Regions from separate parts of the Homo sapiens genome. Here regions 1, 3 and 4 are each linked to region 2. The links are contacts of gene promoters, found by promoter capture Hi-C in human tissues and cell types (Jung and others, 2019). All regions are on one chromosome and are shown on one strand. Each heading gives the region's core, a stretch centred on a gene start or on the middle of the fragment in contact. The rest is flanking DNA. Distances are from core to core; before and after follow the strand shown.

The links. The method cuts DNA at HindIII sites, captures the fragments that hold promoters and counts their contacts. A contact is called where the count stands out against the background at its distance.
Region 1: a fragment that was not itself captured here is called in contact with the fragment with the promoter of GPR18 in region 2 in 2 of the 25 tissues and cell types used here (H1 embryonic stem cells and dorsolateral prefrontal cortex).
Region 3: a contact is called between a fragment that was not itself captured here and the fragment with the promoter of GPR18 in region 2, in 2 of the 25 tissues and cell types used here (lymphoblastoid cells and spleen).
Region 4: a fragment that was not itself captured here is called in contact with the fragment with the promoter of GPR18 in region 2 in 3 of the 25 tissues and cell types used here (IMR-90 fibroblasts, mesenchymal stem cells and spleen).

The regions. Positions count from the first base shown.
Region 1 is chr13:98,961,717-98,964,416 of GRCh38, reverse strand. All of the region lies in intron 1 of DOCK9 (dedicator of cytokinesis 9), which reads left to right. Among named protein-coding and RNA genes, the nearest start is that of DOCK9, 15 kb to the left of the region's middle. The HindIII fragment of the contact is 4,064 bases long and covers 1-2,700 here.
Region 2 is chr13:99,257,108-99,259,807 of GRCh38, reverse strand. It overlaps GPR18 (G protein-coupled receptor 18), which reads left to right and starts at 1,429. Exons shown (of 2, transcript NM_001098200.2): 1 at 1,429-1,654. All of the region lies in intron 4 of UBAC2 (UBA domain containing 2), which reads right to left. It overlaps LOC124903198 (a long non-coding RNA gene), which reads left to right. Exons shown (of 3, transcript XR_007063846.1): 3 at 1,222-1,369. The HindIII fragment of the contact is 6,968 bases long and covers 1-1,442 here.
Region 3 is chr13:99,537,762-99,540,461 of GRCh38, reverse strand. It overlaps TM9SF2 (transmembrane 9 superfamily member 2), which reads right to left. Exons shown (of 17, transcript NM_004800.3): 6 at 2,599-2,700; 7 at 905-1,016. Among named protein-coding and RNA genes, the nearest start is that of TM9SF2, 38 kb to the right of the region's middle. The HindIII fragment of the contact is 5,225 bases long and covers 1-2,700 here.
Region 4 is chr13:99,520,164-99,522,863 of GRCh38, reverse strand. The region is part of intron 3 of TM9SF2 (transmembrane 9 superfamily member 2); the gene reads right to left. Among named protein-coding and RNA genes, the nearest start is that of TM9SF2, 20 kb to the right of the region's middle. The HindIII fragment of the contact is 4,991 bases long and covers 1-2,700 here.

The DNA of each region.
Region 1 (2,700 bases), core at 167-2,666, 300 kb after region 2:
ACTCATTGATCAGCTCCAGGAACCTCCTTTAAGAAGCACCCCACATAATTGGGGTCCCTCACTCATCCAACACACAGTTATTGAGTGCTTCTGCTATGCTGGGTGCTGTTCTAGGTGCTGGAGAAAGCAGCAAATACAATAGGGCTGTCTTGCCCTCATGGAGCTTATAATCTAGCTGGGCAAAGGTTGGGTTCCTTCTAGTGGGCCAGATGCCACTCCTGGTCCCTGCTGCTGTCATTCATTCTGCTGATTGTTCACACATGTGCCTTCCCTCTGACTGCCAGCTCCCTGGGGCAGGGCCGTGTTCTTTTTATCTTGATGTCTCTGGCACAGTGCATGTGAACCAGCTCAGTAAATACCTGTGGAGAGAGGGAACTCATACTGCTAATCACATGTGTACACAAGGAAGGGAGGCCGCTGTTATTTTCCTGTGCCCACCCTACTTATAGGAAAATGAGGATCCTTCCTGCAAACTTGACAACTTCAAGAAATTCCTGGTGGGGCTACGTAGCGAGAGTCACGTGCATGATAGGAGTGCAGGAAGGCTTGTGTGTCCCACACTTGTGAGCACGTGGCTTCAGAAGCCCCTTTTTGTTGCAAGCTGCCATCTCCTTTTTCCTATCCCCAGCAACAGTACTGGTGTCCTGTTGGCAACATTGAGAAGCGCTTTGAAAGTGGACCAACTTTATCTCAGCCTATCAAGTAGCTTTTATAGCCATGCAGATAAATCAAGGAAGTCCTAAATTCTTTATAAGCAGAAATGACGAATTTCTCATTTCTTAAAATAGCTCCAAGAGTTGCCATTTAGTTTGCTATTTCAAGAAGTGGCATTTGGGATTTCAGCTCTTCTTAACATTTAATCACCAGAGACACAAGGGCAAGAAATGACTGGAAAGTTCATTTGAAGCTATCACATCCGAGGCAAGAGCAGTGAAATTACTGTGCTCTTTGGAGCTTAGCTCTTCCCATGGTTTTCGAGGTTTTGTACATGTTTGGCCAGAACTGAACTCAGTTTGTGGGCGAACATTGTGCAGGTCTGCTGGATCCAGAGGAATCTCATTTTCCTGGCACTAAGAACATTTCCTGCTTCTGATTGCCTTTTGATCTGGAATTTCAATTTGCATGATGTTGGGCCGCCAGACCCTAAGCAGCAAATGCTGTGGGAGGGAGGGAGTTCCAAGAGATTGAAGGGTGGGGGGATCATGGTGGGGCCTTTTGGGGTCCTGCTTTCTGGCCCCCATGGGAGGTGTAGGGAAGTGTGATTGCTAGAGGCGCGCCATGCTGCCCGCTGCCATGCTCAGTAGATGGGGACTGGCGGGGCCTCGGTATCAGTGGCTCACCTGTGTCCATGTTGTCCCTTGAGATGAGGAGCTCTTTCTCCCCACCCACTCTGATCATGCCACATAACCCTCTGTGAGCAGTGTCCCATGGGGTGTCCTGCCTGCCTGCTCTCTTCTTCACAATCCAAGACCCTGCTGCTGTCATGGAGCTGCCCTAATGGGAGGGGGTCAGAAGTGCTTTTCTCTATCGCCCACCCCCAGCTGTGGTTATTCTTCGTCTTCCCTGGCACACACCACAGCAATACTCAGTCCCATCTACGGTATAAGCAGCTGTCTGTTTCCTTTGGGTTCAGCCCCTGAATTTCAGTGTCTGGATGCAGTTTTCTCTATATTGGGTCATTATTTGTCTTCCTTTGTGCATGTCCCTGTCATTATTGCCTGTTTTATTTTGTATGTTTCTGGAGGTCAAGGAAAGTTTTTTTTTCTTTTTTTTTTTTTTAAAACCTATCATGCAAGCAACATATTTAATAATATGAATAGCTCTATTTATTATAATATGTGTTTACAGTTTGCCAGGCTTTGCCTTTTCCATGCATTGACTCAGTTGAGTCCAGCAGCAGCCTCACATGACTGCACAGCTCGGCTTTCCTAACCATGCTGCCATCCTCGTCAGCATTCGTGTGGACACACGACCCTATCAGGGCAGAGTCAGGTTTTGTGAGGGACAAAGCTTACAGAATTTTAGGGGCTTTCTTTAAGAAAAATAATTCAACATTTGAAAACAAAATAAGGCACGGAGGTGAACATTTATTTAGAATTTAAAAAGAAAGAAATTTTAAAAAGCTAACACAAGCCATAAACACCAGAAATCCAGGGAAACAACACATTTTTATCAATGAACCTCTAGATACACCTCCATACTACTTCCCTATAGTTTTAGGGCTTCATATTCTTTTATTGCCTCTTCATATGATCATGATTTTGTATTATCATTCTTCATTGCAAGAACAGATCAGTGTTTCCCTTGGCATGATTAGTCCAAATTTGTATTTTATTATTGAGAGTTTAGAAAAGTTTCTTCTAGTTCCACAACATCTGGGAATGTCACAGGAATTTTTAGGATTGGAAAAGCTTCTGTGAGGTTTCTTTTGTACATGAGCAATGCAGTTTGGGGGCATTCTCAGTTTGTGCAATGACTAATCTTACATACCGCCAAGTAGTCCTGGGGCCACATACCTTAGAACATGTCTGAATTGTGCCATGGCGTCCCATCTTCTGTGTCATGACATTGGGTGGACACAGTGGGCACGTTCCTGGAAATCTTCCTAAGCCAAGGTGCCCAGCAACAATGGAGCTGTATGGGAACCACTGGCAAGCTCTTTTAGCCCCACAGGACGTGTCCCTGGGGCCTGAGTGGGAT
Region 2 (2,700 bases), core at 180-2,679:
CAATGGGGAAGCTAATCAATACTTAATTTTAGAAAAGTCCTAAGCTATGTGAATAAGGCAAAGGACAGATTAGGTCTGCATGCAGGCAGATTTCTGTCCAGCTGAAACATCAAACTCCTGTGTGATGAATGAAATATAACATCACATATAAAAAACTGATGAATGTGATTCAGCCATAAGAAGTCCTATCTAGTGGACAGATCAATATAATTACCTCATAAGAAGTTATTACAGCGGGAGAAACTGGACCTGGCTTTACCTTGAGTTCTTAAGCAAGTAACTGGCCTTCAATTTCTTCATCCACACAAGAAATAGTTGCTATGGTTGTCTCCAACACTTCTAAAACCCATCATTCTGGCAGGTTGTAACAATCAAAAGTATTTTATCACCAAAGGCAAGGATTTAAGTAACTTTTCTAAGCCACAGATTTACTATGGTTTTGTCTGAGAAAAAAAAAAAAAAGGATGGACCCCAAACTGTCTAAAATTCAAAAAAACAAATACATTTAAGTTCATGAACCCTTTAAAAAGTTGACAAACCATGCATAACCAAACATAAAGATAATTAAAATTTTAGGATAAGCAAATGAGAGATAATTTTTTTTAAGAAATGAGAAAGTAAAACAAAATTAACCTAACAAGGCAGGCAGCGATTCGTTGCTCACTTCCCTTTCTGCTGGTTTCATTTCCCTTCTTAGGTGAAAACACTCTTAATATGTAAATCAGTCCACTAAAGACTTCAGAGTCCTTTCTGCTAAGATTTGCAGAAATTTTTATGCAAAAGAAATTATTTCTAGACTTCCACGCACTAGAAAAGCAGACTTACAAAATACAGCAAACTAAAGTGGATAAATGTATGTGGCAAAGCAGAAGCAATTAATCAAGGATCCTACTTTTAAGCATTTAGAAATGTTTAAATAGTAAAAAGTGGAAATGTGGATATTCTATGATTTTTAATAACTTGGTAGTAAAAAGTGAGACTCCATTTAGGAGTACCTACTAAGTGCCAGGTACTATTAAGCACTTGGGATCTTTCTGGTTTAGGGCCCCTACAATCCTACTGGATATAGTATTATCTCTATTTCAACTGTACAGAAATGAAGTAGGAACAAAGGGTTAGTCAGAGTGGGTAGGTAACTAGACAAAGTCACATAGCTTATAAAGCAAAGAAGCTAGACTTTAAACCCCCTTTTACTCAATATCAAATCTTCTCTTTCCATAGATGATGCAGACTTCAAGCATCAAAGTACACAAACTGAAGAAACTTTATCCTTTGTATATAATTATCTTAAATATATGCCATCATTTCAAGGGGAGCTTATGCTAAGTGTGACTTCATAAACAAATCATTTGTGAAAGAGAAAAACCACATCCAGGGTAAAGTCATAAGGTGAAAAAGCCTATTTCAGAGAGCACTTCCTGAAAGAGACAAAGCAGCAATTAAAGTCAGCCCAGCACCAACTCCGACGCCAAGCGTTACACTGGAAACTACTTTTTAAAGCAACAAAAGAGTCTAAAACAAAATACAACATTTCTTAAATACACTGTTTCCAGAAAGAGCTATTTTAACAGAAGCAACTCAAAGATATCCCTTCGACAGAAGTGGAAGTGCTGAAAAATGCTCATCTCTCACACAGACTTTTGATGGACAGGAGGTAAGCAGCATTTAATTAACTTCATGATTATTGTCAAAAGTAATGCTTTATGTACTGCATTTCAAAAATCATTTCATTTTAATAATACAGGCTGGGCGCAATGGCCCACGCCTGTAACTCCAACACTTTGGGAGGCCAAGGCAGGAGGATCAGTTGTGCCCAGGAGCACCATAGTGAGACCCCGTCTCTATTAAAAAAATATATTTAATTAAAAAAATAAACATAACAAACTATGTTGGTGAAAGACCTTGAAATAGGCTATATAATCATCTTTCCACATTAATATGATTTTACATTTATTTTCAATATTGCTTTACATTAATACTAAATGTAATTTTTTTCAACTTAAGGAAAGAAAATGTTTATGGTAAATCATATGTATATTTAGGAATGTTCATCACATGTTTTCAATTACATTGTTTCATGAAATAACTTAATGGTTTTTAAGAAAAGAAAAGCTACAGATAATCATGGTATCTATAGCTTTTAAAAAGCTGACTTTAAAGTCAATCACTTTTCAATATTTATCCAAAAATTTCTGTGTTTGCAGAGCACAATCAATACTATAATGCCTTTAAAACACATGCATCACTCATTTTTTTTCAAACGTCAGCAAATGAATATAAGTATTGGTGACAAGCTACATAAAAACAGCTTGAGCATAACGTGGGAAAAAAGACTCAAGATGGTTTGTAAGTACAGGACTTATGTCACAAAATTGAAGGATGAGGATAGGTGAAGGGAGTCCTGATGCAATACTAAAAAAAGAAAAACAAATACAAAATTTCATTTATATTATAATTGCTACTATTTAATAAGAATGCATTCCAGTTAAAAATAAGATTTAAGCCTCCAAGATTACTCTCCTTTGAATGACACTAGAGATATAATTTTTCTCTGTAGCACTTTCCTCATTTGATAGAAATTAATATTCTAGTCACACCAATATTTGGAAAATTTAATATGTTTTTAAATATATAGAATTATGCTCCTAAATCATATTTAACCTAAATATTTGAGAAGGAAAGAAGGAGAAGAAGGGAAGA
Region 3 (2,700 bases), core at 178-2,677, 280 kb before region 2:
TAAATTATAACTAGATGTTTAGATGTCAACATTTAGACCTATATGTAGGTTTTTTTTTTTTTTTTAAGAAAATAATGGAATGGAATGGAATAATTATTCTTTTCTTTATGCCGGGGGCAGCTAACCAGACCAGTCATTCCAGGCACACTGAGCTCTTAATATCTAGAAATATATACTATTTACTGCACCAGGTTTGCAAAATGAAACATTATACGGGGATATTAAACATCACAACTATATTGGATTGCCAAAAGTTTTAAAAAATAGAGTTGGAACACTGCCTAAGATTCTTGCATTTTAATGATAAACTTGCATTTTAAGAAACTTCGCTAATAAAAATACTCCCTTCAATTTTCTAAGACAATCTCCCAATCGGAAACTCTTCATTTAAAGTTCATAATTAAATCTTGATTTTAAAAATGGTGAAAAAATAAAGGTAGAATACTAAGATTCTCATAACAATGAATTTGCATTTTAAGAAACTTCGTTAATGAAAACACTCCCTTCAATTTTCTAAGACAATCTACCAATTGGAAGCTCTCCATTTAAAGTTCACACTTAAATCCTTTAAAGTACGGTGTTGATTTCCCAAATGGTTTCTGAATATATCTCTGGCATTTCCATCCCGTCCTCTAGGCCTGTTTTCTACTTTTGTCTTATATGTATCTCTTATGCTTAACACTAAATCAGGCTCAAGTCTTCAACTTCCTCTATATTCTCATTTAAACTAAGACTCAGTTACAAGAGTGATTATGTTGCTTGGTACACCGACAAACTATCCTAAAAATCAGCTCATTAATAGCTTCTTTATTTGACAAGCATAATCAGTAACATTTTAATTAGTTTAAGTAGTACAAATTTAAAATCAATTTCAGAGTTATACTAAAGATAACAACAGACTCACCTCGAAGCTAACAGAGTAAGTATAGGCAATTTTTATCTCCCCAGAAGCCTTGTTACTTATGTCCATGGGGGGCCCTGAGCAGTCTGGTTTATCTATATGGGTATGTTTGAAGCTGTGGGAAGAAACATTTTGGCAAGATGCTGATAAAGTACAACTTTTTAAAAATGAGGTAAAGGTTACAGATTTTGTACGTATTTTAAAATGCTGCTGACAAAGGTGAAATTATTCATGTCACACTTAATAGCATAAATATTTACATCATATGTGTACAAAATTATAAACATACTTTTGAAAACACTATACTTGAAGAGCATTTAAATAATCTTTTTTTTTTTCTTTTTTTTTTTTGGGACAGGGTCTTGCTCTCTTACCCAGGCCTGAGTGCGGTGGTGCCATCACAGTTCAATGCAGCCTCAAACTCCTGGGCTCAAGTGATCCTCCCACCTCAGTCTCCCAAGTAGATGGGACTACAGGTGTGTGCCACCACACCCCACGCCCAGCTAATTTTTCATTTTTTGTAGAAACAAGGTCTTGCTATGTTGCCCAGGCTGGTCTTGAACTCCTGGGCTCAAGCAATCCTACTGCCTCAGCCTCTCAAAGTGCTGGGATTACAACATGAGCCACCATGCCTGGCCTTTTTTGTTTTTTGTTTTGTTTTTGAGACAAGGTCTTGCTTTGTCACCCAGGCTGGTGTGCAGTAGTGTGATCTTGGCTCACTGCAGCTTCAAACTCCTGGGTTCAAGTGATCCTCCCACTTCAGCCTCCTACAGGCACGGGCCACAGTGCCCAGTTAATTTTTAAATTTTCTGTAGAGACAGGGTCTCACTATGTTGCCCAGGCTGGTCTTGAACTCCTGGGCTCAAGTGATCCTCTCACTTCAGCTTCCTACAGGCACATGCCACCATGCCCAGCGAATTCATTTTCTGTAGAGACAGGGTCTCATTATGTTGCCTAGGCTGGTCTTGAACTCCTGGCCTCAAGTGATCCTCCTGCCTTGGCCTTCCCAAAGTGTTCAGATTACAGGTGCGAGCCACTGTGCCTGGCTAAATAATCTTATTTAAAAAAAAAAAATACTGATGAAGTTTAACTGCCATCTTATTATGGCATGTATTTCTTGACCACCAGTGCATGAGAAAAAGGCTAATTCAATGGCAGAAAAAGTCGTGAAAAAAAATGAAATATTTAAAAAAAAAATCTCATAAATAACTGATATGTACGTTCGTGATAAAAAATAATAAGTTGAAGAGATCTCTTTCAATGGCTCGTATTTCATAGTGGCATCTAACACTGCATAGGGGCTTGAGAAATCACAGTACTTGTCCACTCATTTGGGCCTCTGACCAGAGGAAAGCCACACATTATCTGAGGCAGTGTTCTTTCCACCACGAAGGGGACCACTGTCCCAACCACTCAACTTCTCCCTCCCCACTGACACGTGGAAAAGCTGTCAAAACCTCCTGACTGAAAAACAAAACACTAAGGCACCTTGGCTTGACCGCTTATCATGACAGGAAAATAACTATTGGTATGGTTTTCTGGACAACCCATAACAATAACAAATCATGCCAAAGGGAGTTTTAGTGAAATCAATCCTGAAATGTCAGAATATTAAGGAGTAATTGAGCCCCAAATACTTATTCTTTGGGTCTAAATTTCACTTATACTTGTTTACTTTTTATCATTAATATAATTACCTTTTCGGTTCAAGTTTAGCAGCCACTAATCTTGCTCCCATGGACCCAGTTTCAACAACATGATAGTATATTTTGATGTCAACATGGTTGAAGATGTAAAAT
Region 4 (2,700 bases), core at 190-2,689, 260 kb before region 2:
TGAGCAAGGAACAGTCCTTGCACAGAAACAGAAATGTGCCCAATGACATCCTACTAAGGGGAGTAACCTGCCTTCAAAGTCTGCCCCAAAGGGCAACACCTCCCCATGGGTTTGAGTATTTTGCTGGGTTTCCTTCTGTTTCCTGCTAGGGACTCCTGCTGTCTTCCCAGTTCACTAAGGGCATTACTGATATTCTTCCCACCCATCATTTCTCAAGGGCAAGACATAAGTAGAGAGATGGGGCTGAGAGGCTGCTGGAATATTTAAGATTGTAAAATTTAAAAAGCATGCCTGAAAACAGTCATCTGCTATAAGAAGAATGCAATACCATTCAAAGTAATCTTCCAAATACCCCAAGAGGGAAGAGGTGTTTCGCAAGTTACATGCCTGCCCTGCTCAATGGCACCCATGTCCATACACTTTGAGTTCCTTCCTCCTCAATGACTTCATCCCATTAGGCCTTTGAATCTACTGTGTTTAGGAAACTTTAAAAGTTACTGGCAATTTTAGGGTAGACAATTTCAGATTAGAATATTTGAAAGGGGCCGGGCATGGTGGCTCATGCCTGTAATCTCAGCACTTTGTGAGGTCGAGACAGGCAGATCACCTGAGGTCAAGAGTTTGAGACTAGCTTGGCCAACTTGGCAAAACCCCATCTCTACGAAAAATACAAAAATTAGCTGGGCATAGTGACACACGCCTGTAATTCCAGCTACTTGGGAGGCTGAGGCAGGAGAATCACTTGAACCCAGGAGGCGGAGGTTACAGTGAGCTGAGATCTTGCCACTGCACTCCAGCCTGAGCAATAGAGTGACACTCTGTCTCGAAAAAGAAAAAAAAAGTATTTGAAAGGCGTCAGACGGCGGCTCACGTCTATGTCTATAATCCCAACCCTTTGGAAGGCTGAGGCAGAAGGATTGCTTGAAGCCAGAAGTTCAGGACAAGCCTGGGCAACAGAGTGAGACCCTGTCTCTATAAAAAATTTAAAAATTGGCTGGATGTGGTGGTATGCATCTGTAGTCCTAGCCACTCAGGGGAGTGAGACAGGAGGATCACTTGAGACTAGGAGTCTGAGGCTGCAGTAACCTATGATTGTGCCACGTCACTCCAGCCTGGGTGACAGAGCAAGGCTCCATCTCTTAAAAAAAGAAAAGAAAAAAAAAGAATATTTGAAGAGGATATATTTACAGTCAAAACCAATCAACTTGTAGTGGATTAAATTTGCACAGTGATGTTTCTTTTCCCCCAGGGCTTCACAGTGTAGGTGCAGGTGCTGGAGGGAGTAAGACGGTTGGTGAGATGAATCTAGGCTTCGGGATTTGCTGGACAGATAATAAATGTTGTGCTCCATGTAATAAAATGTCGAGGGAGATGGGGGTGCCTCGTGAGAAAGCAGGGAAGGTGGCTATGGATGAGGTCTAAGACATAGCAGAGACGCGAAGCCAGGAGAGGAAGCTGTCGGGCTGGGGAATAACACCTGGAGTCAAGTTAGAGCCATCAGAACACACATTCTCATGTGGACAGATGCCCATGGTAGAGAGTTAAAGGAAAAATGCAAAGTGTGGCATATAGTATGTTAAAACAAATAAGTAAATCTAATCTATTTAATGTAAGCTTATAGGTGTATGAAAATTTTCAGGAAATTTTAATAACAAACTGTGAAGTGGAACTGCACATTTATTATTATTTATTCTTTTGCATCATTTAATTTTTTTATATGGTGATACATTATTATAATAAACTACTTTAATGTTTCTAAAAGCAAAAGACCATTGTTCTTTGTACAGTAGGAGAACAGATACAAAACAAACAGGGATTATGCAATGTGGAAGGATAATAGGCTTAAAAGATAACAGATTTAAAGGCAAAAGAATTCTGAGAGATGATGAAGTACATATGTTGAAAAGAATACCTTATATTGTGCTTAGTTTGGTTTAACTGGTGTTCGAAAAATGTACCAAAGATGTTCCAAATACATCAAAATAGAAAGGTTAGGCTAGGCATACTGGCTCAAATCTGTAATCTCAACACTTTGGGAGGCCGAGGCGGGCAAATCACTTGAGTTCAGGAGTTTGAGACCAGCCTGACCAATATGTTGGAACCCCATCTCTACTAAAAATACAAAAAGTTGGCTGGGCATGGTGCCATGCACCTATAGTCCCAGCTACTCGGGAAGCTGAGGCACGAGAATTGCTTGAACCCGGGAGGCAGAGGTTGCAGTGAGCTGAGATCTCACCACTACACTGCAGCCTGGGCGACAGAGCAAGACTCTGTCTGGAAAAAAAAAAGAAAGATTAGCTTCCAAAAATCCCAGTGCGGGAGCCCAGGCAGCATTGTACGTGCTAACGGAGAGTGTCTCTAGATACTGCTGGAAAACAGGGGGAAAGAGACACAGAGCAGCTGAGACAACCTCTCATGACTGGAAGCTGGGTTCCAGGACCCGGGTTTCAGGACCCTCTGTAAAGGAGGCAGAGCATCTGAGCCCTGCCCTTTAAGCCACCGTCTTAACATTCCTAACATTAGTTGCGTGAATGTTCATTAAGACAGACTTATCAATGACACACTGTGAGAAGGAGAAGGATCCTTCTAACTTTGATTTTAAGAACCTATTCCTAGATGAAAAAGAGAAATGAACTCCTCCTTAGCAATGATAGCTGAGTTATCTCAGGCTTTTCTTAAATAACAAAAACAAAAGCTGTA